Linked DNA regions of Homo sapiens: all the other regions are linked to region 4. The links are contacts of gene promoters, found by promoter capture Hi-C in human tissues and cell types (Jung and others, 2019). All regions are on one chromosome and are shown on one strand. The core of a region is centred on a gene start or on the middle of the fragment in contact, and the rest is flanking DNA. Distances in the headings are between cores, read along the strand shown. Region 1 overlaps RSU1 (Ras suppressor protein 1). Region 2 has its middle 23 kb from the start of LINC02654. Region 3 overlaps LINC02654 (long intergenic non-protein coding RNA 2654). Region 4 holds the start of C1QL3 (complement C1q like 3). Region 5 has its middle 48 kb from the start of LINC02654. Region 6 overlaps RSU1 (Ras suppressor protein 1). Region 7 has its middle 70 kb from the start of PTER.

Region 1 (3,865 bases), core at 257-2,756, 240 kb after region 4:
TCTCACAGTAACTCACTCACTATCACAAGGACAGTACCAAGAGGGGATAGTGCTAAACCATTCAGGAGAGCTCCGCCCCCAGGATCCAATCACCTCCCACCAGGCCCCACCTCCAACACTGGGGATTACAATTCCACATGAGATTTGCTGGGGACACAGACCCAGACCATAACAATGGGGTCTGAAGGAGCCTTCAGACCCAGAACCATCTTCCCAGCTTGGCCGCTAACCTCAGGGGTGACCAGGAGCCAGGCCCTTAGCCCCTTTGAAAAGGCTTGGCTTCCTCTGTATACAATGAAAGCACTAAAACCTGCCCTCCGTACCTCACAAATGTTGAGAGGGTCAAGTGCTGCAAAGCAATACACAAAAATAGATTATCATTATTATTATTTACTGCTCCCTGGTTCTGCAACCTCAGCTGAATCAAAACTCCTCTCTTCACCTTTGCATAAAGAAAGACAGGACTGTCACCTCTCAGCTAAAGAGAAGAATTGCATAAATGAATGAAGCATCATTAGGGAAAATATTCTTCCCTCCACGGCACGAAGGTGCTTTGTAAACTATTCCAATTTAACACAGAGAGGAAAAAGAAATCAGCCATATTACCACTTGTCCGCCAGTTCATGCTATGCAAATAAGTCCCTTCTCGGTCAGCAGAACTGAGATAAAATTTTACTGGACAGAAAATACAATAAAAATTTAACTTCCTTATTGCGCCAACAATTAGCCTCTCAATTAGCTCTCAAATATGCACTAATGTAGGCCACTGAAAGAATATATTAAAACAATAAAATTTTTTTAAGACCCAAAACATAAAAAGAAATTAGAAATCCATTTCTGTGCAATAATATAAAAGGAATCCCTCCCCTGGCCTTACCCGGCATGCCCCTTCCACTCTCTTCCTCTCCATCCTTTCCGCTCCACTGATACTCACCCAAGGTTCAGGTGTTTGAGTTTCTGAAGGCTACTGATCTGTGTGGGCAGCTCCTCGATTTGGTTATTAAAAAAGTTGAGCACCTCCAAATTCTTCAGTTCTGCGATGTTCGGTGGCACCACTATGGAAACAAAAATGCTGAGTGTGAATCTGGGAATGGAACTCCTAGCAAGGGATGGCAGCGGCACATTTTGTTTTTCTTTCAAAGCAAAGAAAGACATAACTTCAAAAGGGCCATCGAATTCACCTACCGGTCTTATTTATTTTTTACAGGTTTTTCATAAGCAGTCACTCACTTCTGAGTGGCTGCTTAAATGCTTCTTCATATATGGTTAGCTAAGTGCTTGGCATAGTTTGTTTCAGATGGACAATGAGGGGGGAAACAGAGCAAAAATGCACAACAGAGAATTTCTGTACCATAAACAGCCTATAAAAATGAATATTAAGAAGCATATATACTTATGGTTGTCATATACGATCTTCTAAGTGCAACTTTTTTTTTCCTTTTGGTTTTCTTGCATTGCCGTCAGAAGAAGAAATGCTTCTTCGTATATGATTAGCTAAGTGCTTGGCACAGTTTGTTTCAGATGGCTAATGGGGGGGGAGAAACAGAGCAAAAATGCACAAAAGAGAATTTCTGTACCACAAACAGTCTATAAAAATGAGTATTATGAAGCATATATACTTATGGTTGTCATATATGATCTTATAGGTGCAATTTTTTTTTTCTTTTGGTTTTCTTGCATTGCCACCAGAAGAAAGATGGAGATCTCCAAATCCCTTCCGGGATGATGTACATTGAAGCTGCTTAAATAACCCAGTATCTGAAAAGCTGTCCTCTTAACATTGCATTAATAACAATATAAGCTCAATTTTAAATGATGAAATATTCACCCTCCCTAGTTTCTGATTTTGGCCTCTGGAGTAATTTAACTTGATCAGTAACACACACACACATACATACATATACACACACAAAGGTTACATCAGATTAGCAAGAGATCGATACACTGTTATTATATAGAAATACAAAAAGTCAACTCAGTAGCATGCTATGAATACTAGTATTCAGATCAAAGGTGAAAATCAGCCACTGGGGACCTGAAAGGTTCCTCCTTCCCTAGAATATATACATTTGAAAATACAAATGTAAAAGCCAAAGGCATCTTTATCTTAAAAGCACAAACTGTAAATTGGCAGCAGCAGGAGTTTCCATAGACTGTAATTCATCTATCCCACTTGCTATTCAGTCTTTCTACAAACATTTCTGTGGGTGATAAGCTTGGCCATGGTTCACGTAAACTCTGATACCAAGACTATCCAGATAACTAAGAACATGAACAGGGGCGTGGAACTCAGCCTGAGAAAGTGTGATGTCTCTTATCAGTCAGGTTTACTTCCCATCCCATCTGCTTCCTCCAGGGGTGCCCCAGGAGGCTGGGAGACCAACCTGCTTCCTGCAGTCAGACCTAAACTCAGACCCGGGAGCACCTGTGATTAGAACCACCACAAAGGTGTGTGTAAAATGCCAAACATACATCTAAAATATTTAAGCAGCTAGCCATTTCAAGACGACCAATTGATAACTCCCAGGGGAACAAAAGTAAAGGGACAGGCACGTTGCTTATTATAGTTTTGAGTCATCATTTTGAGCTTTCTGAAATGTCTAAGGTATCACTGGCCTTTTAGAGGTAAGGCTTGGTGAAAGGTAAAAGAGATGCTTTCACTGGAAGAAGGGACTGTGAAGAATACAGATTACTCTGAACTGGGGCACACGGGCAGGGAGCAGTGGTCTAGTGAGCGGCCCCTGCGCGAGCTCCGGAAGTGGCCGTTGATAAAAGAACAAGTTTTCATCGGGTAATCTAGACAGCTCAAAGTTCCTCCAGAACCCTCCCTCTGGGATACCTGCAGGAATGCAAATGAACCCTACCTGTACAGTGTGGCTGCAAATGTACATTCTTTCTTAGGTGCACAGTCCATGGAACACTTCTGTGTAAATGAATGGTATTCACTGTGTGTAAGGGATTACCAAGAAAATCACCAGGGCCGGGAGCGGTGGCTCACACCTGTAACCCAGCACTTTAGGAGGCCGAGGTGGGTGGACTATCTGAGGTCAGGAGTTCAAGACTAGCCTGACCAACACGGTGCAACTCTGACTCTACTAAAAATACAAAAATTAGCTGGGCATGGTGGCAGACGCCTGTAATCCCAGCTACTCGGGAAGCTGAGGCAGGAGAATCGCTTGAACCTGGGAGGCAGAGGTTGCAGTAAGCCAAGATCATGCCATTACACTCCAGCCTAGGTGACAAGAGTACAACTCTATCTCGAGAAGAGAAAAGATTGGCCTGGTGTGGTAGCTCACTCCTGTGATCCCAGCACTTTGGGAGGCTGAGGCAGGTGAATCACCTGAGGTCAGGAGTTTGAGACCAGCCTGGCCGACGTGGTGAAACCCCATCTCTACAAAAAATAAATAAATAAATAAATAATTAGCTGGGCATGGTGGCGCATGCCTGTAGTTCCAGCTACTCGGGAAGCTGAGGCAGGAGAATCGCTTCTGGGAAGCAGAGGTTGCAGTGAGCCGAGATCAAGCCATTACACTCCAGCCCGGGTGACAAGAGTGAAACTCTATGTCCAAAAAAAAAAAAAAAGAAAAGAAAATCACCAGGCTGTGCCTTCTGGGTCACTGGATGTCATCTTCTCCCCCCAGATCATAAAGTATATACATTACAGCTGCCCACAGACCTCATCCCTCCCCTGTCCACCCTCCAGCTACCACTAAGCCTTCATCTGATTAGTTTGAAGAGCACATTCATCTGATTAGTTTGAAGAGCAATAAGGAAAGTTAGTGAAACCAGGAGAAAATGATGATCTCAATTTAGCCACAAACCAAGAATAATGCAGCCAGAATTACTGCCGTCTTCCCGAAGTTAC
Region 2 (3,860 bases), core at 1,361-3,860, 220 kb before region 4:
TTTTACTTACATGGAGTCAATGAATTATGTGTTCTCATTTATTTAAGGCTGTTTCCTTGTCCACCGACTAAGGTACTGCACATCTTAATTAAGTTTTTATTAAATATATTCCCATATACTGTCACTGTTTACCTCTTATTTGGGACCCTAAAGCTACACTCTCTTAAAGGTGAAACACTAGGGTTATTTTTGTTAAAGTGAAAATGGCCCCATCACCTTTATGGTTAACATTGCTTTATAAACATTCTGCAATAAACTAAGACTCTTAAAAAGCAATGTAAGTACAAATATTTAAAGTAAGGAAATGACTTTTTAGTGATGAGCAGATGCTTGGAATTCTACCTTCAAGAAAATCAACTCAACTTATGATAACTAAGGTAAGAGTTTTGTAAGATGGTAAGTTACAATAGGATTAAATAAAATTATGACTGTAAAGTACCTGGACCAAATTGCAATGCTTCACTGTTTGTTAGTTTTTAGTGTTATGGCCTTAGCTATTCAAGCATATACTGGTGCACATTTGGGAGAACATTTCTATGTGGAAATGTGGAAGAGGAACTGATGGGCCATGGGCCATGCACATTTTCAACTCCACCAGATCCTGCCAAATGGCTCACCAATTTACACCCCCATGAATACTACGGTGTATACACACTCGTGTGTCACTTAACAATGAGGACATGTTCTGAGAAATGTGTCGTTTGATTATTTCGTCATTGTGTAAACATCATAGGGTGTATTTAAACAAATCTAGATGGTATGGCCTACTGCAGACCTTAGGCTATATGGTATCATCTATTCCTTTGGCTCCTAAGGCTACAAACCTGTACCCATGTGACTGTAATGAACACTGTAGGCAACTGTAACACAGTGGTATTTGTGTATCTAAACATATCTAAGGTACAGTGCAAGGTACAGTAAAAATATAGAATACAAGAAAAAAATATAAGACACTTAGCATGAATAGACCTTGCAGGACTGGAAGTTGCTCTGGGTGAGTGAGCGAGTGACGAGTGAAAGGGAAGGCCTAGGACGTCACTATACACTACTGTAGACTTTATAGACACCGTACACTTATGCTACACTCTATTTTAAAAACAGTTCTTTCCTCAATAATAAATTCGGCTCAGCTTACTGTAACTTTTTTACCTTATAAACTTTTAAATTTTTTTAACTTTTTGACTCACAATAACAGCGTACAACACAAACACTGTACTGCTATACAAAAATACTTTGTCTTTATATTCTTATTTTATAAGCTTTTTTCTATTTTACCTTTTTGTTTGTTTTACTTTTACCTTTAAACTTTTTTGTTAAAAACTAAGACACAAACACACCTATTAGCCTAGTCCTACACAGGGTTGGGATCATCAATGTCACTGTTTTCCACCTCTGCATCTCATCTCACTGGGAGGTCTTCAGGGGCAGTAACACACATGGAGCTGTCATCTCCTATGATAACAATGCCTTCTTCTAGAATATCTCCTGGAGGACCCGCCTGAGGCTATTTCACAGTTGGCTTTTTTATACATATAAGTAGAAGGAGTACACTCTAAAATAACAATAAAAAGTAAGGTAAATAAGTAAACCAGTAACATAGTCATTTATCATCAAGCATTATGTACTGTACGTAATTGTACGTGCTAGATTTTTATACTATTAGCAGTAGAAGTCTGTTTACACCAGCGCCATTGCAAACACATGAGTAATGCATTGTGCTACAACGTCACTAGGTGACAGGAATTTTTCAGCTCCATTATAATTATAATCTTTTTTTTTTTTTTTTTTTTAACAGAGTTTCACTCTTTTTGCCCAGGCTGGAGTGCAATGGCATGATCTTGGCTCACTGCAACTTCCACCTCCTGGGTTCAAGTGATTCTCCTGCCTCAGCCTCCTGAGTAGCTGAGATTACAGGTGCACACCACCACATCCAGCTAATTTTTTGTATTTTTAGTAGAGACAGGGTTTCACCATGTTGGCCGGGCTGGTCTCGAACTCCTTACCTCAGTTACCCACCTGCCTCGGCCTCTCAAAGTGCTGAGATTAGAGGCTTGAGCCACTGCACCCGGCCTCCATTATAATCTTGTTGGACCACTGTTGTATATGTTGTATATGTGGTCTGTCATTGATCAAAACATTAAGTGCCACATGACTGTATTTTAAATAAATCACTTTACACACTAATTTTCAAGATCATATCACTCCAAAAAGCAAGACAAACCTTTTTCTTGACAGCAGTTAAAAATCTATAGAATTCTCTAAACAAAATTTTTCAACAGAGAAAATTATATTAACTGATTTTTTTCTGCCAGAGATGAAAATTTTCCGGTGTCTAGGATAACTCAATTGGACAAGAATAACTGAAAAATACCAACATTCGTACATTTTCTTGTTAAGTTTATCACAACTTACTAAATGCTATATTATATGCTTAGTTCTATAAATGTATACATGTATATACACTAAATACTGCTATATATATATATAAAGCCATATATATTTAGTAACATATCATCTTTTCTCATGTTGATGTACTTTGATCATTGATGAGCTCAATAAAAACTGAAGATAAAAGCTTAGAATCACCATAACAATTGTGTAGGGAGAGAAAATATAGGAAGAAGTAGGAGAATATAGCTTATAAAACAATCAAGGGGGAATATCATTGCTATCAGTATTTTCATGAAGAAAACATGAATACTGTAGAAGGAATATAGAAATATACGATGAAAGTCCTAACCCAGTAAGTAGTTGATTCAAATGTTGCCTAATAAATCCAAAACTTATTTAAACTCAACGCAATTTAAGTAAACCCATACTCCACTCAGCTAACACACAGCAGATTGTAATCCTGTCTCCTTGCCAAAAATGAAAGTTTGTCTCTGTTCCTTCCATAAGAACTTTGGGTTTTACTATATAGCATTTCAGGATTAGAACTGATCAATGCAAAATTGCACATGTGGGCCGGGCGCAGTGGCTCACACCTGTAATCCCAGCACTTTGGGAGGCTGAAGCAGGCAGATCATGAGGTCAGATCGAGACCATCCTGGCTAACATGGTGAAACCCTGTCTCTACTAAAAATACAAAAAATTAGCCAGGCATGGTGGCGGGCGCCTGTAGTCCCAGCTACTCAGGAGGCTGAGGCAGGAGAATGGCGTGAACCCAGGAGGCGGAGCTTGCAGTGAGCCGAGATTGCACCACTGGACTACAGCCTAGGCAACAGAGAAAGACTCCGTCTCAAAAAATAAAAAAATAAAAATAAAAAAAATAAAAAATAAAATAAAATTGCACATGTGATCTAGGCCAGAGGCAGTGGCTCATGCCTGTAATCCCAGCACTTAGGGAGGCTGAGGTGGGCGGATCACCTGAGGTCACGAGTTCGAGACCAGCCTAGCCAACATGGCAAAACCCCATCTCTACTAAAAACACAAAAATTAGCCAGGCATGGTGGTGGCTGCCTGTAATCCCAGCTACTCAATAGGCTGTGGCAGGAGAATCGCTTAAACCCAGGAGGTGAGTACAGTGAGCCAAGATCACACTATGGCATACCAGTCTAGGTGACAGAGTGAGACCCTGTCTCAGAAAAAAAAAAAAAAAAAAAAAAAAAAAAAAAAGGAGAGAAAAAGAAAGAAAAGAAATTGCACCTGTGACCTGCCAATTGTACCTGTGACCTGACATATCAGTAAAATAGAGCATCGAGCCTGGAAACTGCCCACATTAGAGCAATGTTTCTAGTGTGTTTAAAACAAGCAGTGGGCTAGTCTAGCAGGAGGCATCAGTGGCCAGTGGGCCATAGCAGAGCCTGGGCAAAAAGGTCTGGGAAATGAGTAAAACATGTTTAGACAGTAGTAGGCAGATA
Region 3 (3,998 bases), core at 554-3,053, 240 kb before region 4:
AGCCTGTAAACCTAAACTGACTTTGGGTGTTGTCTCTCACTTTTTGATTCCAACCGCTCCTGATTTTCTGTCTTCTTCTTAACTAAGACTTACTGAGTGCTGTTAAGTTTTCAATGGATAAGCTATGTCTCAACTTTTCAATACCTTGTTGCGGTGGCTCCGCCTGCAGTCCCAGCACTTTGGGAGGCTGAGGCAGGAGGATTGTTTAAAGCCAGGAGTTTAAGACCAGCCTAGGCAATATAGTGAGACCCTGCCTGCACAAAAAAATTTTAAAAAATTCACCAGGCTTAATGGTGTGCTCCTGTAGCCCAGCTACTTAGGAGGCTAAGGTGGGAGGATCACTTGAGCCTGAGAGGTCGAGGCTGCAGTGAGAAATGATGGTGCCACTGCACTCCAGCCAGGATGACAGAGTGACTGACACTCAGCCAAAAAAAAAAAAAAAAAGTATGCACCAGGAAGACAAAATATAATGCCTTATTCACTAACGCATGTTGAAGTATATGTACATATATACACAGAATTGTAGGCCTGTACCTATTTCTAAGCCATATCCTGTACATGATGTGGTTTCAACATTCCAGAAACCTAGAAGTCCACAATCCTGCTCAGCCTTGTCTTCAGTTTCTGATCTTGAACAGTCTTTCAAAGACCACAGCCATGAGAAGGTCAACTAGAGCATCTAAAGAAGCAAAAGTTATGAGTCTCAAGTCTATGGCTAATTTACTTCAAAGCCTGATCTTCAGAGAAAGATATGAGAATAAGGAAAGATTTCTAATGTGTTATTCTATTGTGTTTTATCATTTTGCACCTTTTTTTCTTGTTTCTCATCTGTCTTACTCACTTTGGTCTATAAGCTGTGTGAGAACAGAAAATATAACTATCTTAGGGCAGGCGTGGCAGATCACACCTGTAATGCCAGCACTTTGGGAGGCCAAGGCGGGCAGATCACTTGAGGTCAGGAGTTCAAGACCAGCCTGGCCAACATGGCAAAACCTCATCTCAATTAAAACTACAAAAATTACCCGGGCATCATGGCACACACCTGTAATCCCAGCTACTCAGGGGCTGAGGCAGGAGAATTGCTTGAACCCAGGAGACAGAGGTTGCAGTGAGTTGAGATCATGCCACTGCACTCCAGCCTACATGACAAAGTGAGACTCTGTCTCAATTTAAAAAAAAAAAAAAAAAAAAAAAAGAAAAAATATAACTATTTTGCTCATTAATGTGTACCCAGAAATTAGGTCTAGCCCATAGTGGGCAGTCAGACAATCTTACTAAAATGACTGACTGGTCTAGGGGAGAAGGGAATAGAAAGAAAAATTAGTCCACTGATACAGTTTGGCTGTGTCCCCAGCCAAATCTCACGTTGAATTGTAGTTCCCATAATCCCCACATGTTGTGGGAGAGACCTGCTAGGAGATAATTTAATCATGGGGTGATTATCCTAATGGTGTTCTCCTGATAGTGAGTTCTCACGGGATCTGATGGTTTTATAAGGGGCTTTTCCCCCCTTTTGCTCAGCACTTCTCCTGCTGCCACCAGGTCCAGAAGGGCATGTTTGCTTCCCCTTCCGCTATGATTGTAAGTTTACTGAGGCCTCCTAAGCTATGCTGAACTGTGCATCAATTAAACCTCTTTCCTTCATAAATTACCAAGTCTCAATATGTCTTTATTAGCAGCGTGAGAACAGACTAACACATCCACCCATGGAATAAGAGGGAGATGAGTAAACTAGCTAGGAGGTTAGCGAGCACAAATGCGGGAACCATTCTGCAGCATGGCCACTTGAGTAGCAAGATAATGCTGGGAGGGTGGAAGAAGGAGAACTTGGGACTGGGAAACCATTGATGGCTGAGCACAGTGGCTCACATCTGCAATCCCAGCACTATGGGAGGCTGAGGCAGGAGTATGGATTGAGGCCAGGAGTTTGAGACCAGCCTGGGCAACATATAGTGAGACCCACGACTCTACAAAAAAATTTAAAAATTAGTCAGACATGGTGGCATGCACCTGTAGTCACAGCTACTCAGGGGACTGAGGCAGGAGGACCCCTTAAGCCCAGGAGTTTGAGGCCGTAGTGAACTAGAGTCACGCCACTGCCCTCAAGCCTGGGGTGAGGCTCTGTCTCAAAAATGCTTGTTTTTTGTTTTTTTTAATTTTTAAAAAGAGAGAAAATTAGGGCATTTTCTAGGTAAATAGTAAGGAGATAAGCTTAGTGACTTTTCTGCCCTCACAAAGCCAGTTAGCAGGCAATGTAGAGAAGAAAGCGGACCACCTAAGTCCTGGTTAACTACCTTTTTTCTCAGAAGCAGGGGCCGCTAAGGGAGAGATGTGAAGGTCAAGGAAGCTCTGAGCTCCTGACAGCCGCCCTTCCAGCCTTCTCCTGCCTTCCATAGAGAGATGCTATGGACTCTTGGTCCAGAGACTCAAATTCAAGGAAAAGAAGAGGCAACATTTGCAGTGTTGATCCTTGAGTTGAACAAAGGTGAGAGATAAGGGAAGAGGGTCACAGGGGCTGGGTGAGAAGTAATGTGGAGAGGGTGTGATGCTGGCGAGTTGGAAGGGACAGTGGTTGGGGAAGGTTCTGGGCTTCCGGAAAGAGCAACTGTGCCGCGTTGTCAGTGTAGCAGCTGGAGAGTGTGGGAGGACTTTAGGGAGACCACAGAGGGGGAGTTATAGGAAACACAGCAGCACTGGGAAGCTGTTGCCTGCTATGCAGCAAGGCCATGAGGCCCTGGGCCCTCCAGCCAGTCCCTGATCATGAGTTTGCGGCCTTGTTAGGCCCTGGCCGCGATGCCTCATGATCCTGCTGATGTTTCTGCCTTCTCTCCAGCCAGCAGCCAGCCCCTCTCAGGGGCTTCTCACTCCACTCCATCAGAAGCATACCTCAAGCACCCATTTGCATGGTCTCCTTTTTAATTCCCAAAGTTCAAAATCTCCACCTCCGTATCTTGTGCCACTCTAGCAGTTGCTGCTTACCCTAAAGCCAGCAAATTACAGTGACAAGAACAGAATTTCTCTTATGCTTAAAAAAAACTTAAATAAAGTCTATACAATATAAGGGTGAGAGAAGGTGGCATTTCCACAGACTTAGATAATAGGTGCCCTATGACAGAATGATCCTCTAATCTATCCTGGAAGCTACAAATTCTACTTGCAAAGTGATCTGTAACCACCTTGGCCCACCTGAAGGTGACAGTCCAGAAATGCAGCTCAATTTTGTGGTAATCCTGAGGTCACAAATAAGCTGTTTTTGTGCATGCGACTGTATCCTTTGGTGTTTGCTCTATTTGTAAACTGTGTCAGTATGATCGCTTGTAGCATCTTGGAATTATCTGGAAATATTTTTCAGAGCAACCTCAGAATGCTTTTCACAAATGTCATTCCCTTATTCTTTGAGGACTTTCATTGAGAAGACTCTTAGGGGCTGGCATAAAGTAAAATCCATTCTTTTCTTCAAAGCACTTCCTAGTTCCAGGAGATTCTCTTTGCACGTATACAGACTCTCCTTCCCTTCCAGGTAGAAGCTGTCTCCGTGGTTTCCTCTCTGCACCCACTATTCTGAGCCCATTTCCTCCTGGGACTGTCCCTTCCTGGGACTGTCCTTTCCTGGCTCCTTGGATCTGTCACCCCCTGGCCACACTTCTATTCTTTCCCTTTGCTTGAACAGTATCAGATGGGGAATATTTTTTTCTTTTATGTTGTTGTTTGTTTGTTGATCCAAGGTCTCACTCTGTCACCCAGGCTGGAGTGCAGTGGCACTATCATGGCTCACTACAGCCTCTACCTCCTGGGCTCAAGTGGCCCTCCCACCTCAACCTCCCAAGCACCTAGGATCACAGGCAGGCACTGCCACGCCTGGCTAATTTTTTTTTTTTTTGTAGAGACAGGGTTTCACTATGCTGCCCAGGCTGGTCTCAAACCCCTCGGCTCAAGTGATTTACCCACCTCAGCCTACCCAAGTGCTAGGATTACAAGTGTGAGCCACCGCACCTGGC
Region 4 (3,831 bases), core at 105-2,604:
CGCGCATCAGGACGTGGTAGGTGAAGAAGTAGATGCCCGGGATGGAGCAGGTGAACTTGCCGGTGGTGGGGTCGTAGTGGTTTCCGAGGTTGGTGACCACGTCGTCGAACTTGAGCACCTCGTAGCCTTCATGCTGCCGCTTGAGGCCGGCGTAGAAGGCGATCTTGGGCACCGTGCTGTAGGTGGCGGCGCTGATGGCCCCGGCCGCGTTCAGGCCGGGCGCCCCGGGCGGGCCCGGCAGGCCTTGGCGGCCCGGCTCGCCCTTCTCGCCCGGGGGCCCCATGGGGCCGGGTGGCCCGGGCTCTCCGGGGGGCCCGCGCGGACCCGCCTTCCCGGGCCTGCCGGCCTCGCCTTTGGGGCCCTGGATGAAGGTGGGCAGGGACTGCATGAGGCCGCGGTCGGGCGTGGCAGCGGTGCTGGGCGCCTTGGTGCCCCCGTAGGGGTCGCAGACCATGCGGCAGGTGCCCAGCATCTCGTAGTGCGCCGACGTGCCGGCCGAGCTCACCAGCACCGGGATGAGGATCACCAGCAGCAGCACCATCACCACCCCCAGCGCCCCGGCGGCGATCAGGCGCCTCCTGCTGCCCACCAGCCGGCTCAGCGCGGGGCGATCCTCTTGTCTGCTTTTGGACAGAATTTTGAAGGTTGGGCGGGGACCTCTTCAGAGCCGAAAACAACCCCCTGCGAACCCCAACTCCCCTGGGCGTGCGTGCGCCGGCCGCTGCTGCCGACTCCTGCTCCCCCCGCGGAGGCTGCGGCTGGGGAGGGAGCGCGGGCGCCCAGTGACTTGAGCCGAAGTCCCGAGCCCGGGGTGGGGGCCGGGGGAGGGGTGCGCGGGGCGCCCTCGCCCCCCGCGAGCTCCTTCGCACCTGTGGCTGCAGCCGGCGCCGGCGCGGCCACCGGGAGGGCAGAGCCAGCCGCCGCCTCCTGAGCTCGCCCGGGCAGCTCACACTTTTATGCCGCCGCCGCCTGCGATCGACTTTTCCGTTTTTGCAGACTGCGCCTGTTCGCACCAACTTTCCGTCTGAAGTTGCCTTTTTCTGCCTCCTCCTCCTCTTCTTTCGCTCGCTCAGTTCGCCCGTCCGCTGCCTTTTTTTTTTATTGCCTCCTTTCTCTCTTCCTCCTTTGCCACCACCACAACTCGAATAGACGCGCACCCCAAAGCCCCGCGTGGGCCCGGGCGTCCCCCGGGTGCGCCCAGCGGCGGCGGCGGCGGGCACGGTCGGCACGGCGAGGCTCAGAGCTGGGGCGGAGGAGCGAGCGAGCAGCGGCGAGCGCCTCACGGCCGGGAGCGGAGCGAGAGAGAGACTGAAGGCAGAATTCTGCCTGGGTACCACCTGCCAGGAGAAGAGGAGGCTGACAAACGCGCGCCGGAGCAATTTATAGGCACCCAAGGCACAGAGGAAGGGGAGCCGCTTTGGCATCTCATTGCAGCATCTGCTCTGCTCATCCCACTCAGAGAGAGTTTGGCATTACTCTGACAATGTGGGATTTTTTTTTTTTTTTCGGCCTCTCTTTTTTTCTCTCTCTGCACATGGATGAACAGTGAGATTCTGAATACTCCCTTGCTGAACCAAGCGATGGCAGGTCCTGCTGGACCCACCTGGGGAAGGGAGACAGCTGTGCGACAGCTTTCAGAGCTCAAGGGTCACACCTAAATCCCCGATTTCCCCACTGCCAGCAGCCCCAGTTGGAGGGTGGAGGTGAAGGTTGAAAGGAGGGTGGCTGAGTTGACAGTTTCTTTGCTAGCTCCTCTACAATCAGTGCTTCAGGTGTTTTCAAAATGCCACTGTTAACAGAAGGAGGGCCTTTTAGAATTTTCCAGATGGTAGATGTGATTTTCTTTTAACCTGATGGTTTTCCTCCTCTGCCTTGTAAATGAATAAGATGTTGCCCCAAGAACAGTGAGGTATGTTGAAAAGCCAAAGAACATTTGTGAATGATTTTAAATGAACATGTCCACCGCCTCTGGGGGAGGAGGGGGTTGGTCCTTTTTACAAATGCTGCACCGTGGTGAGTGCATACATACGTACTGTGCTTACAGTCTTACAGTTCTAGCAGTCTTTCGGGGGATACCGCCAATGGCCCTGAAGTTGCGTTTACTTAAAGTCGCTAAATGTACAAGAAATAACCACTTGTCAAAATGGCGTCAAAAGATCAAGCAAGAAGCTTTTGCACAAGTGCTGGGCAAGGTCTTTTCCTAGCATATGGAAAGAGTTCTATAAGCTCCATAGCAGATTTCCCGAATATACATTGAGGGAGGGGAGAAGTAGGAGAAATACAAGAAAGAAGAGCCCCCATTCTCAGTGGGTGAGCTGCAGAAGGAACAGCATGGTTTATCATATTACTGGAAGGCCTCCAGGGTAGATATCAGGCAAGTTACCCCACCAACAAATACATAAGACACACAAGAATGGCTTTAAATAAATAAGTAGAATTGAATCCTAAATCATACTTTTGCATTCAGGAGCAACAGATGTCAATCAAACGTGGGTGACATTTGCTTGTCAATACGAGGATGATGGCTGGGAAGACGGTGACTTATTACATCAGGGTGAGAATCTGAAATGAGAAAAGCAGGAACAAATAAGACTACAGCAAGCAAACAGTAACATCCTGGGTGACGATCAGCAGCCTGTGATCTTGTCTGCGGGTGTCACAGCATGGACTTCTCCTTTCCTCCCTGTGCCTCAATCTCCCCGCCCCCCAGCCTACTCCAGTCCACCCCACCAATTTAGTTCTTTCTTTCTTTCTTTCTTCTCTGTTTCAAAACAAAATAAGGTCAAACGAGCAGACAGAAGGAAACAAAGACTGAATGATTCTTTTAAGAGAAATGTCAGTAGCTCCTTCAGGCCTTGGCTGGGAGAATCAACCCTAAAAGCTGTGCTGTGTGGCTCAGCGGGGTGGGGGTCTCCACCTCCTGGCTACTGAGAGAGCCACACTGCTCCTGGTATTGGAAAATAGGGCTTCCCACTTCTCAAGCCCTTAACTTTTATTTTAGGGTAGTGGTTTTATAAATGCGCGCCTATTGCTTGGGCATAATTATACACATAGTTCCATAATATTTTTGTTCACATGAGCTGCCTTATTTTCATATTTTTAAGGAGCAAACACATAATAAGTTGTCTCCTGGCCATAATACTTACTTTCCTAACACACCTTCTGGATTGCTTCTTAAAAGTCACCTTCCTTTTGGAGGACAAAATGGTGAGGTTTGCTGCCAGCACTGGGGGGGTAGGATATTAATAAAACTCTGATGCACCAGATTATCAAATTTCATAAGGCCTCTCTATTGCTATGAAGAGTTCTGTAGGTGACACAAAAGGAGTTTTTAAAAGGTAGAGATGTATAGAGAAGTTCTCATCAAAACCTCAAGCTATGTGGAGTTTTCCCATTGACTAACGCTTAAGATATATTGGAGTCAAATGCTCATAAAATGCTCATCAATGCTTATAAAATATTAAGAGTTGAAATGGACTCTCTGTTCATGCAGATGATGAGACCGAAACAGAGAGCTTCCAGGAGGATCAATGCCATTCAATGAGCTTGCTGCTGTACTCCCCTCTACACAATATGGATATATCCCATCCCAGCCCGAGACTGGCCATACTAGTTCTAGTAACTGAGGCTTTCCTCCTACTTTCTCTGACGCCAAAGCAAATTTGATTTTGCAAGTGAGTGCCCTCACATTTTAAAGCTCTGCTGAGATTTAGAAAGGCACTCAGCAGTCATCATTCATCATGAAGTCACTCCCTCCCAGGCCACGTGGCTGACCCCAGACTTTCTATTAACTGCACAAGCCTGGGCAACACATGGATATTTGGCTCTGTA
Region 5 (3,988 bases), core at 724-3,223, 200 kb before region 4:
ACTCCAGCCCAGGCCATAGCGTGAGACTCTGTCAAAAAAAAGAAAGAAAGAAAGAAAGTAAAAGAAAGAAAGAAAGAAAGAAAGAAAGAAAGAAAGAAAGAAAGAAAGAAAGAAAGAAAGAGGAAAGGAAAGGAAAGGAAAGGAAAAGAAAAAGAAAAGAAAAGAAGTTCAATGGACTTACATCCATATGGCTAGAGAGGCCTCACAATCATGGCAGAAGGCAAAAGGCACATCTTACATGGCGGCAGGGAAGAGAGAAAGCTTGTGCAGGGAAACTCCCCTTTATAAAACCATCAGATCTCATAAGACTATTCACTATCACGAGAAGAGTGTGAGAAAGACCAGCCCCAGTGATTCAGTTACCTCCCACCTGGTCCCTCCCATGACATGTGAGAATTGCAGGAGCTACAATTCAAGCTGAGATTTGGGTGGGGACACAGCCAAATCATATCACTTGGATTCTCAAACTGACTAGGAAACAGTTGTCCTTCCTAAAACTTTAATTAAAGAACTCTTCAGTCAAAAGTCTCATTGCTCTAAAGAGACCCCATAACCTATGGCCACCATTTCTGCACTCATGTCCACCCTAATATATTTTATACCACAGTATAGAGAATCAGATAGACCAAACTTGGAATCAGCTCAGACTTCCACTTCAACTGAACATGGGTAATTCCTTCAGCATCACTGACCTGGACAAAGAGAAGTTGAAGGGATGTATACGTGGAATCAGTTCACACAACATCTTCATGCTGAAACATGAACCCTGATATGTAGTCCTTTTCTTTTCAGCACTTGGATGGAGGCAGGAAGCTCAACTGCCTTCAATGCCCCCACCCATCCCTCCTAAGCATTAATAGAGAACAGAGAGAAGCAGCATGATGATCAGCATGAGGCCTGAAGTCTCTTGGAGATTCTAGCCAGCTGGTGGCCCTAGGGATGAAAGAATCCATATTCTCAGGATGTGTGAACAGCCCACTTATGGGTTTTAACCAGTGAAAATCAATAACAGGCTTAGAGACCTTGCAAATTACCCTCCAGTTCTCTAGCAGTTACTCATGCTCTGGGGATCAGGAGGATATAGCATGAGGTGCATTTATACATAGTTACAAAGAACTCAGCTCTGTTGGTAAAATTGTATGGTGTTAACTGAAGACAGAAGTTTGTTCCATATCCCAGGAGCCAAGTTTACCCTTACCCAATTCCCTAATTAACGTTAGTTTCCACATTGGCTATATTATCTCCATATACCCTTTCCATGTAGAAGAACTTCACTGTCATATAGATGCCTCTTTGAACGTTACTAAAGTTTCTTTAAACCTTGACTTGACAGCAATTCCACAAGGTATTAAATAACATCCAATACTTTGTGGAATGCCTCCATTCCCTATTGTCAAAATATTTGGAGAAGGTACTCACCGTCCAAGTACATAATGGAGTAAATGAGTCAGGAAAGAACGTTTTTGGTAATTAACACATAAGGTGATATTAACATTAATATGTTCTGAAGGCGTCTGGACCTCCGTTTTCTCCCACACACATTGGCGTAATTTCAGATAGAATAACTTTTGACATTTAATCTACTTAGCAAAAAAAAGTTCTTTGTAGTTATCAGTGCTATTAACTTATTTGTTTATTTTTGAGATAGAGTCTCACTCAATCTTCCAGGCTGGAGTGCAGTGGCACCGATCTCGGTTCACCACAACCTCTGCCTCCCAGGTTCAAGTGATTCTCCTGCCTTAGCCTCCCAAGTAGCTGGGATTACAGGCACCCATCACACCCGGCTAATTTTTTGGGTTTTCAGTAGAGACAGGGTTTCACCATGTTGGCCAGGCTGGTCTCAAACTCCTGACCTCAGGTGATCCACCCAGCTTGGCCTCTCAAAGTGCTGAGATTATAGGCTTGAGCCACTGCCTCCAGCCAATTCGCTTATATTTATAGTTATGTTTATCCTGGGTACATGGCCAGCTACCTGCCCACTTTAAAGTTAAATTTTTAAAAAATCTGACTTACTGTAGCCAGTGAAGGTGAGTGGCTCTAATGTACACCAATTCTTGGGAAACACCTATAAGATATATACATGGTCTGCCCTGTTCTTTTCCCCTGGCATAGGTAGCAGGGATACCCCTGTAGCTGGGGTGAAGGTCCCCAAGCCTGAGTCTCAGAGTGAGGACAACAGGAAGCAGAGACCCTGCTGCTCTGAGATGAACAACTAGTATCACCAAGAACCCGATCTGTTCTCAGCCTACACTTTCTGTGGAAATGGACGAAACTCATCAGAATCACACACACACAAAATACCTGTGTGGCCCTAAGGTCCAAACCCCTTTCATAACAGTGTGTATTTCACAGTCCACGTGGGTGCTTAAGGTGCTTGAGATTACTGGAGTCATTACCATATTACAGCCACACCTCTCCTGATTGACAAAAGACAACTTTAAACTTGCCACAGTTTCTCTCACAATGAGTCAATTGACAATGAAATGGAGACAGTGTATTTTAATGAAGAAAACATGAGTTTTGTAATCAGCTTGATTTGGTTGAAATCAAAAGAGTTTACCAGCCAGGAGCAGTTGCTCATGCCTGTAATCCCAGCACAGGAGGCTGAGGTGGTAGGATTAGTTGAGCCCAGGAGTTTGAGATCAGCCTGAGCAATGTAGGGAGACTCTGTCTCTACAAAACATAAAAATAAATTAGCCAATTGTGGTGGCATACACCTGTGGTCCCAGTTACTCAGGAGGCTGAAGCAGGAGGATTGCTTGAGCCAAGGAGGTAAGGCTGCAGTGAGCTGTGATTACTCCACTGCACACCAGCCTGGATGACAGAGCAAAATCCTGTCTCAAAAAAGAAAAATAAAATAAAAAGGGAGTTTATCACTTACTGTTTATGTGATCTTATCAAGCCACATAGATATTTTGAACTTTACTTTCTCCAACTATCAAATGGAATAATACTATACATCTTACCGAGTGCAGCAAAAAATCAATGACATAATGTTAAGTATCAAGCTCAGTGTATGTAGTAACCATTACTGTCTATCCTTTTCTCCCACACTCAGACCCCTTCTGGTAATGAAATACTGGAAGAACTGACTAGATCAGGAATGGACAAACTATAGCACACAGGCCAAATCTGGCCCACTACCTGGTTTTGTAGATAAAGTTTTATTAGAATGCAGCTATACTCATTTATTTATACATTGGCTATGACATTTTGTACACTACAAATTCAGAATTAGAGTAGATGCAACAGAGACTGTATAGCCTACAAAGCCTAAAATATTTACTCTCTGAACCTTCACAGAAAAAAAAAAATTGCTGACCCCTTGACTAGATTCATTCATAACCTGGACAATTCAGTTTCTCATATGAATCAACTCAGAGCGTCTTTGTCCTGAACAAGTCAATACTGTGAAGTGTACTAGTTGTAGATGATATTTCCCCTCCAAAGAGCTCATTGGAAACTTGCTCACTGCCTGGGTGAGACTCTGCCCTAGATTTTACAGTCAACTGTAAAATGTACTAAAAGGCAGCCAAAAGATTGCTCTACATCTAGCTCCTTGAATATCACAAATTAGCACTTGTGTATTCACTTAATAATTCATTCAACAAACATCTGCTTAGATGCCAGTTATACACCAACAAACAGTGCTACGCAATGAAGATAGGGAGATAAACAAGGGGCAGGCTCCCACTCCAGAAGCTCTCCGACTAGCAGAGTGGCAAATATGTAAATAAATAAATGCAACCCAATACAGAGAGTTAGTAGCCAATAAGCTTACAGGCATATGAATAGGTTAAAAGTTTATACACATAAGCAAACTATAGCAAGAAGATGAAATGAAGTGATACCTGAGCAGAATAGATCAGATTTCTTGATACAAAGCATCCCAGCGTGAGAAGCTCTGCATGTGTAGAAGCAAAAATCAACCGCAGCACCAACAAAGCATCTAGCAGACTTACGTGTAGGTGGAGGCTGCATTTCCATC
Region 6 (3,505 bases), core at 807-3,306, 160 kb after region 4:
CGCATGTGCCTGCAACCCTAGTATGAGGATGAGGCCTTGTAGGAAGCTGAATTTGATTCAAGAACCAGAAAAGTCAAATGATCATGTACATTCCCCTAAACTTCATACACTGGCTTCCCTTTGAGGGTATCAACATAAACTTAACATTTTCTTATTTTCTTCCCAGATGTTACTCAAAGCAACATGGAAAATGAGACAACGTTCTTTTAAACTGGCCAGAACTTGATTTCTGGCTTTGTCCTCAGTTGTTTTACTTAAACGATGACTGTCCGTTTTCTCGTCTGAAAGCAGAGGCAAACTGTGAACCTACAGGAGATGAATTCTGTAAAGAATTCACCAGGGCCTGGATGTGCATGGTAGGAACACAGAAGTCAATAAATGTCAATTCTCTCTCCTTAGTGTAATTGAGGCAAACTGTATCACACACTAATCTACATGAAGAAAATAAAAATGGGGGTAGGAAGTTGGGAGTAGCTGACTTTATAATGCAGGTCCTGAATTTTTCTAGTAAAAGCCACTCAATACTCTTAGTACTGAAACCAGAGTAAACCCAAGTCGTCTTGTATCATGCATGTGTACAGTGGCCTGCAAGGAGCTGTTTCCCCATTTGCAGTTCTCTTCTAACCATGTTCCAAAAATTTATAGAGAATATTTTTACTTTATGGCCAGTATTTTTTCTTGTTGCCCTGTCTCAACTAAACTTAGAAAAATGAAGCAGAGACTGTCTTCAGAAAACTTAAAATAATATAGCTCCAAGATTATAAGTATTTCAAAACAAAAACTTTTATTGACAACATTTACATTTCTTAGGAATTATCCAGAATTTAGCACCAAAATACATTTGTTAGTTGCAAGACACATTCTATTAAAAGATCACACCACTCACGCAGTTTCTATTGGGAATGCACAAGAACAGATTAAACATGCTCATAATCCCACATAAACAGTCTGAAACACACACGTCATCTTAGTTGACAGCTTAAAAAAATTAAGGAGAAAAGAAACAAAAAAAAAATCCTTGTCTCACTGTAGGAATCCGAAGCGCATTTCCATCCTTTAAGACACAATCAATTCTTTCAAGATCCATTCTTCCTTATTTCAAACCCTCATGCCCTTTCAAAAATAGAAAAGCTTTTCTCTCACTTAAAGTCTTAGGTGGGAAAATACCCCTAACAAAACAAAACAAACCCAACGTAGAAATCCATTTTCTTGCTTTTTCTTTATTCTTCTCTTTTGTTGGTCTTCATGAATGACCATCTTTTCTCATTTGATTCTCAAGGAAAAACAGACTGCCACAGATTCTTCCAAGAACATAGGAAAGCCTAATGTTATCTGACAGGTGTTATAAACAGTGGAAGATTTCACAATGCTTCAGCCAAGAATTGGGATGGTCCATGCATTAAGCGAGAAACCTTCTCTCAAGCTGTCTTTCAAATTGTCTCTTTCCAAGATTCGGGACTCATTTTACGAGGTGATATCACCTTGAAAATTTTTAGTGTACCTGATCAAAGGGAGACTAAAAAGGAGGACTTCCACACAATCTTCAAATGAATGAAAATAGGAGATAGTGTAGACAAAACCAGTTACAAAGCCACATTCTTTGTGGTTTCTTCCTTTATACATTCATGGGGAAGTAAAAACTTCCTACTGGGGAGTATTTTCTTTTTTTAAGAAATAATCTTTTCAATAGTGAATACATGTGAAAATAGGACATTCAATAGGTACCACAGGATAAAGAGTGAAGAGGATGTGCCCACTCCTCCCTGTCTCTTGCCATCCAGTTTCTTTCCCTAGAGATAACCACCATTACTACATTACTAGTTTATTGCCTATCCTTCAGGAATATTCCATCCACTTACAAGCACAATCACGCATTCCACATGCCCCATGGACTACTCCATCATGGAAAAAGAGAAGGCAGACAAGTGAATCACAGATCCCTCAGATTTGAATTAAAAAAAAAAAAGTCTTGCTTTCAAACATAATTAGTTTATTGGTTAAGGAAATGTTTCATTTGCACCATAAGAGTAATGTGGTAAAAAGATCTATAAAAATAACGAAGCACCATAGGGAAGTCATAATCTAAGCTGAGTATTAGATAGTGAGAACACATTTTAATGTTTCCAGTACTTTTTATTACCTACCACCAAAAACAATGAACTGTATAACTTGGAACACTCCAGACCCCAGAATGGTCTTACTTTTCAGAAATTAGGGTGACCTGTCAGAAGTTATATAAGACACTGGGGATGTCATGTGCAAAGCCCAGTCAAGAAGGAATCTTGCTTTCAAAAAGACTTCAGTCTCTTACAGGAGAAAAAAACACATACTTAACTACTAAAATACAGGTAGTATTCACACCAATAAATATTGAGTGAGAAACTTACATACAGTACATACAAGGCATACAATGTCTGACACCTGGGAAAGAAGTGATAGCCACTGTTATTATTAAAATTACTACTAATGAAAGTAGAGGCCCTAAAGAAAGATGATAAAAGGAGCTTAGAGTTGATGGGCAGTAGGGAAACCTTCCAAGAAAAGATCTCTGAGGAAGCGATATTTAACCTGACACTTGAAGAATAACTGGGCATTTAATAGGTAAAGATGTGAAGAAAGAGCATTCCAGACAGACAAGGCAGCACACGTGGACGTGAGGTGGAAAGCAGGTTGTATCTCTGCTGGGATGTAACCCGGCCTTGTCTTTCTGGGTCCATTCCCAGCAGCTCTGTCTGAAGGCTCTCTATTGCCAGCTCAGCTCCCACGTGGCCCACCATCACCATCCTTCTGCCCTAGAGGATACTGTGATGCAGGAACACTCAGGGCAAAGATACGGTGATGGAAAAACTCCCCTCATCTGGCACAATAAAGACTCAAGTTTTTTTTTTTTTTTTTTTTTTTTTTTTATGAGACAGAGTCTCACTCTGTTGCCCAGGCTGGAGTGCAGTGGCACAATCTTGGCTCACCGCAATCTCTCCCTCCCAGGTTCAAGCGATTCTCCAGCCTCAGCCTCCGGAGTACCTGGGATTACAGACGTGCACCACCATGCCTGGCTAATTTTTGTATTTTCAGTAGAGATGGGGTTTCACCATGTTGGCCAGTCTGGTTTCAAACTCCTAACCTCAAGTGATCTGCCTGCCCTCGCCTCCCAAAGTGCTGGGATTACAGGTGTGAGACATCGCACAAAGCCAAAAACCGGATTTTTAAGAAATCTGGTCTCTTATTACACCTTTAACGGGGTATCAAAAACAGTGCCGAGAATACAGCAGACACAGGCCTGTGTCTCAGGACAGAATGTACACGTGAAGCCTGGACATAAGAAAGGCAATCTGAATACCATTTTCCCATGACATTCCAAAGAGCTCAAGTTTAAAAAAATAGTAAGAAGAAGAAAAATAAAAAACAAGGACTGTGTTAGTTCATTCTTGCGTTGCTATAAATACCTGAGGCTAGGCAATTTATACAGAAAAGAAGTTTAATTTGCTCATGGTTCTTCAGGCTGTAC
Region 7 (3,963 bases), core at 502-3,001, 160 kb before region 4:
AAGGCAGGAGGATCACTTGAGGTCAGGAGTTCAAGACCAGCCTTACCAACATGGTGAAACCCCATCTCCACCAAAAAAAAAAAAATACAAAAATTAGCCAGGAATGATGGCAGGCACTTTACCCCAGCTCCTCTGGAGGCTGAGGCAGGAGAATCACTTGAATCTGGGAGGCGGAGTTTGCAGTGAGCTGACATCCTGCCACTGCACTCCAGCCTGGGCAACAGAGTAAGACTCTGTCTCAAAAGAAAGAAAGCTAATGGTGAATCGACAGTAATCTAAGTTTTCAAACATGATAATATTGAGGTCTCTTTTCTGTTAGTGCTTAAGCTGCTTGCTGCTTTGATCATCTGAAGCTGCTAATGAAAGCTTTATTTCACATTTTGAATTCATACCTGCTCATTTGACATTTATTGCTGCTGATGTAAAAGATATTTCACCAATAATACAGGCTTGCTCTGCTTTATGGTCATTTGTATGTCTAAGAATTCATCACACTCTAAGAGCAGAGAGTAGCAATTTAAAATAAGGCAACATAATATGGCTGGTGATGAACTATTATTCTCTATTAAACACATTTTAATAAATATCCATGTATTAGTTAACTATAAAGGAAGTGTTTAAGATTAAGAAGAGCATATGTGAAAGACCCTATCTTCCTATTACTATAGCACCACTCATATTTGTAGGGTTTGAGACAGGGTCTCACTCTGTTGCCCAGGCTGGAGTGCAGTGGTGCCATCATAGCTTACTGCAGCCTCCAACCCCTGGGCTCAAACGATCCTCCCTCCTTAGCCTCCACAGTAGCTAGGACTACAGGGGCACACCACCACACCCAGCTAATTATTTTTATTTTTTAGTACAGACAAGGTCTCACTATGTTGCCCAGGGTGGTCATGAATTTTCGAGCTCTAGCTATCCTACAGCCTCAGCTCCCCAAAGTCCTGGGATTACAGGCATGAGCCACCACATCCAGCTCTTTGTGTAGGCTTCTATTTGAAACACAATTGCTTCTATATTGGCCATTAGGACACTTTCAGCTGCATAAAATAAAACACAGCTCAGAACGGCATGAACAATAGACACTGGTCACAAGGATTGAAGCCTAGAGGTAGACCTTCCACAGAGCTGCTTAACTTAGCAGTGATGATATCATCAAACATCCAACGCTTTCTTTTCTGGAGTGACCAACTTGTCCCAGTTTTCTGGGACTTTCCTGGTTTTAGCACTTCAAATGAGAAGTCCTGAGAACCCCCTTAGTCTGAGATAAACCTGGATGGTTGGTCACCCTATGAGTCCTTTCACCCTCAGGGTGCTAGCTTTGGTCCTGGGGCCTGTGCTCTCATTGCTAAAAATGACTACATCAGCTTGAGTTCTCTATATTCAAATTCATTCAGAGACAGAAAAGACTATTTCTCTTTCTGTACCTCTATTTTAAAGCATTAAACTGTCCTAGAAACTGTCCAACAGATTTCCCCAGACGTCCCATTGGTCGGAACTATCTGACGTCCCCTTTCCTCAACCAGACCCTGGCTAAGGAAAGGGAATTGCCAGGACAGGTGTACCCTAATCAAGATTCAGCTGCCTGGGGATGTGGACGTCATCTTCCCCAAGCAGTGATGGGGAAAACAAGAAAAAGAGGCCAAGGCAGGAGGATCGCTTGAGACCAGGAGTTCGAGATCAGCCTGGGTAATACAGTAAGACCTCTGTCTCTAGAAAAAATACAAAAATTAGCCAGCCATAGTGGTGCATGCCTATAGTCTTAGCTACTGGGGGGCTGAGGCAGAAGGATTGCTTGAGTGCAGGAGTTCGAGGCTGCAGTGAGCTATGATGGTGCCACTACACTCCAGCCTGGGCAACAGAGCAAGACATAAGTAAAGAAAAACAAAGAAAGGTACTGGTGGGTGATGATGCATTTGGACAGTGTCCATGCAGCAGTTATTGTTGGTTGCCTACGAATTCCATCTTTTTAGTTTTGTCTGCCTCTCCATCCCTGTTGATTCCTTGGGGTAAGGAGAACTCTTTCCCTTTCATGTTTTAGGATGCCTGGGATGGGTGCGGGGGACGGGCGGGGAGGAAAGGGCCCTTGCATAATTTGCAAAGCCTTCTTTGGTTATTCTGAGATTTTTTTTTCTCCTCTCTGCATCGTGATCATAAGCCCCAATAACACAAGCTAGACTCCCATGCCTTCAGATAAATGATGCTGGTATTTCTGGAGTCTCACTTCTCCAGAATATCAGACTCCAGCTTTGCAGACCTGAGATTTTTTTATAAATGAAAACCTGATTGGATCTACCTTTACCTACCTATGAAATGTCACCAATTAACCTGGTATCAAAGCAGAGTGCAGTGGGTATGTAGCGGCATCTTCTGTGAGATCTGGTGCTCATTAGGTAAGCTACCTTAATGTTTCCATCATAGCAACCTACTCAATTAAAGCTTCACTAGGACAATCACCAATTTATCCATAAAGTGCCCCTCACTGGAGGGAACCTTTCACCTTGCCTTCCAGAGCCAGCAAGACTCATTTAGAATTCATTTTCAATTTTCTCCCAGATTCTCTATCTCCAAAACATAGGATTTAAGACTTAATGCTCCCAAGCTGCAGCATTTCAAAGACAGACTGAAGTAGCATCTAAGTTCCAGGTTAAAAAAAAAAAAAAATCCAAAGGTGTCAAACATTAAAGTGAGCCACTTTTCTGCCTAAACTGATAGATATCTTTATGAGACTTAAAAATGACTGAAGCAACACCTTCAATATTTTCAATGAACTGCAATACAATGACCCCGTTAGTTGCTTTTTCAGTATGTCCGTGCTGAAGATTTTTACCTGCACGCTCTCTCCCTCTACAGAGGACCTTACTGCCACATCTGCCATATCACATCAACAGTAGTGAATGTCCTTTGCAAATGCAAATATTTGTAAAATGTTCTCAGACTGGGTGGGGACAGAGTTTGCTGATAGTTTAGAATAATTACAGGGGCTCTATGCACAAATGTCAACACAGAAAAAATTAGCAGAAAATGAGGCAAAGTGACAATACAAATGGCCAGATTCCCTATTATCACTTGCTGTACATCTCACAAGACAGCTGATTCCCCGCTCTGTATGGGTTCCAGCATCCAGTGATTTATTGGGTAATTCAGCATTTGCTAGCATGTCTTGTGCTAATTAAATGCATCGCACTCTATTCAGAAATGTCACAATTGATTTGTCTTCTGCAAGCACTGACTTTATTTCAATCTTCTGGAAAAGACTTTATGAGCCCCAGATAACTTATCCTGGCACATTCATCTCCCAGGGTAGCTTCTGGGAGTGGGGGCAGTAAGACAGGAAACCCCTAGCGAACATTTAATGCAAATACATTTGAGGACGTCTTATTTATCCATCATATGCCATGTGTCTGAGTAATAGCGTAGGTATGGCAAAATTACAAACTGCTCCATTAGCCTGTAAAAGCATTTAAACATGACAGAAGTTAATGTGAAATGATATTGGCAGAACTTATTGGATGCTGTTAGATCAATCCCAGAAAACATGTACTTCGAAAGTGGGTTATTTATTATGAGGTGTTTACTTATTCACAAATTGATTTTGATGAAATTTAGCTATTAACTAACTTGCATACAAGAGGAAATCTCATAATGTCATTTCAGGGGCAGGGAGGGGGAGAGAAAGTATATGTAGTGGACATTTTAGGAGATGTAACACATCTCACAGTCACATAGAACAACAAAGCGAGGAAGACAAATCAACTAGCTGTTTTTTTTAACTCCAGGTGGATTTCCCCCACTGCACTTCACCTTCTGAACCTAGTTGCAGCCTCCAGGTTCGCTATGTTCTTTAAGGATCAGCTACAGGAAAAATATCCAGCTTAGTCCAGGGGAAATTAAAATTCAGCCTCAAACAGCCACTGCTTATGAATTGATAATCATGCCACAGAAAAAGAAAGACGACCACATATG

Evidence for each region. Contacts are between HindIII fragments. The study calls those that stand out against the background at their distance.
Region 1: a contact is called between a fragment that was not itself captured here and the fragment with the promoter of C1QL3 in region 4, in 1 of the 25 tissues and cell types used here (lymphoblastoid cells).
Region 2: a contact is called between a fragment that was not itself captured here and the fragment with the promoter of C1QL3 in region 4, in 1 of the 25 tissues and cell types used here (dorsolateral prefrontal cortex).
Region 3: a fragment that was not itself captured here is called in contact with the fragment with the promoter of C1QL3 in region 4 in 5 of the 25 tissues and cell types used here (aorta, dorsolateral prefrontal cortex, mesendoderm cells and 2 more).
Region 5: a contact is called between a fragment that was not itself captured here and the fragment with the promoter of C1QL3 in region 4, in 1 of the 25 tissues and cell types used here (aorta).
Region 6: a fragment that was not itself captured here is called in contact with the fragment with the promoter of C1QL3 in region 4 in 2 of the 25 tissues and cell types used here (heart right ventricle and thymus).
Region 7: a fragment that was not itself captured here is called in contact with the fragment with the promoter of C1QL3 in region 4 in 4 of the 25 tissues and cell types used here (H1 embryonic stem cells, bladder, heart left ventricle and 1 more).

What each region holds. Positions count from the first base shown.
Region 1 is chr10:16,763,456-16,767,320 of GRCh38, forward strand. It overlaps RSU1 (Ras suppressor protein 1), which reads right to left. Exons shown (of 9, transcript NM_012425.4): 4 at 935-1,055. Among named protein-coding and RNA genes, the nearest start is that of RSU1, 52 kb to the right of the region's middle. The HindIII fragment of the contact is 4,126 bases long and covers 1-3,569 here.
Region 2 is chr10:16,299,258-16,303,117 of GRCh38, forward strand. No RefSeq gene overlaps it. Among named protein-coding and RNA genes, the nearest start is that of LINC02654, 23 kb to the left of the region's middle. The HindIII fragment of the contact is 4,128 bases long and covers 547-3,860 here.
Region 3 is chr10:16,281,424-16,285,421 of GRCh38, forward strand. It overlaps LINC02654 (long intergenic non-protein coding RNA 2654), which reads left to right. Exons shown (of 4, transcript NR_184075.1): 2 at 2,307-2,485. Among named protein-coding and RNA genes, the nearest start is that of LINC02654, 5.4 kb to the left of the region's middle. The HindIII fragment of the contact is 7,682 bases long and covers 1-3,998 here.
Region 4 is chr10:16,520,525-16,524,355 of GRCh38, forward strand. C1QL3 (complement C1q like 3) reads right to left here and starts at 1,355. Exons shown (of 2, transcript NM_001010908.2): 1 at 1-1,355. The coding sequence starts at 541. RefSeq lists silencers at 206-265, 576-795, 1,066-1,295. The HindIII fragment of the contact is 8,174 bases long and covers 1-3,831 here.
Region 5 is chr10:16,324,044-16,328,031 of GRCh38, forward strand. No RefSeq gene overlaps it. Among named protein-coding and RNA genes, the nearest start is that of LINC02654, 48 kb to the left of the region's middle. The HindIII fragment of the contact is 4,027 bases long and covers 1-3,987 here.
Region 6 is chr10:16,676,992-16,680,496 of GRCh38, forward strand. All of the region lies in intron 8 of RSU1 (Ras suppressor protein 1), which reads right to left. It overlaps LOC124902385 (a long non-coding RNA gene), which reads right to left. Exons shown (of 2, transcript XR_007062073.1): 2 at 766-3,505. Among named protein-coding and RNA genes, the nearest start is that of RSU1, 140 kb to the right of the region's middle. The HindIII fragment of the contact is 9,054 bases long and covers 1-3,505 here.
Region 7 is chr10:16,364,897-16,368,859 of GRCh38, forward strand. No RefSeq gene overlaps it. Among named protein-coding and RNA genes, the nearest start is that of PTER, 70 kb to the right of the region's middle. The HindIII fragment of the contact is 5,747 bases long and covers 1-3,963 here.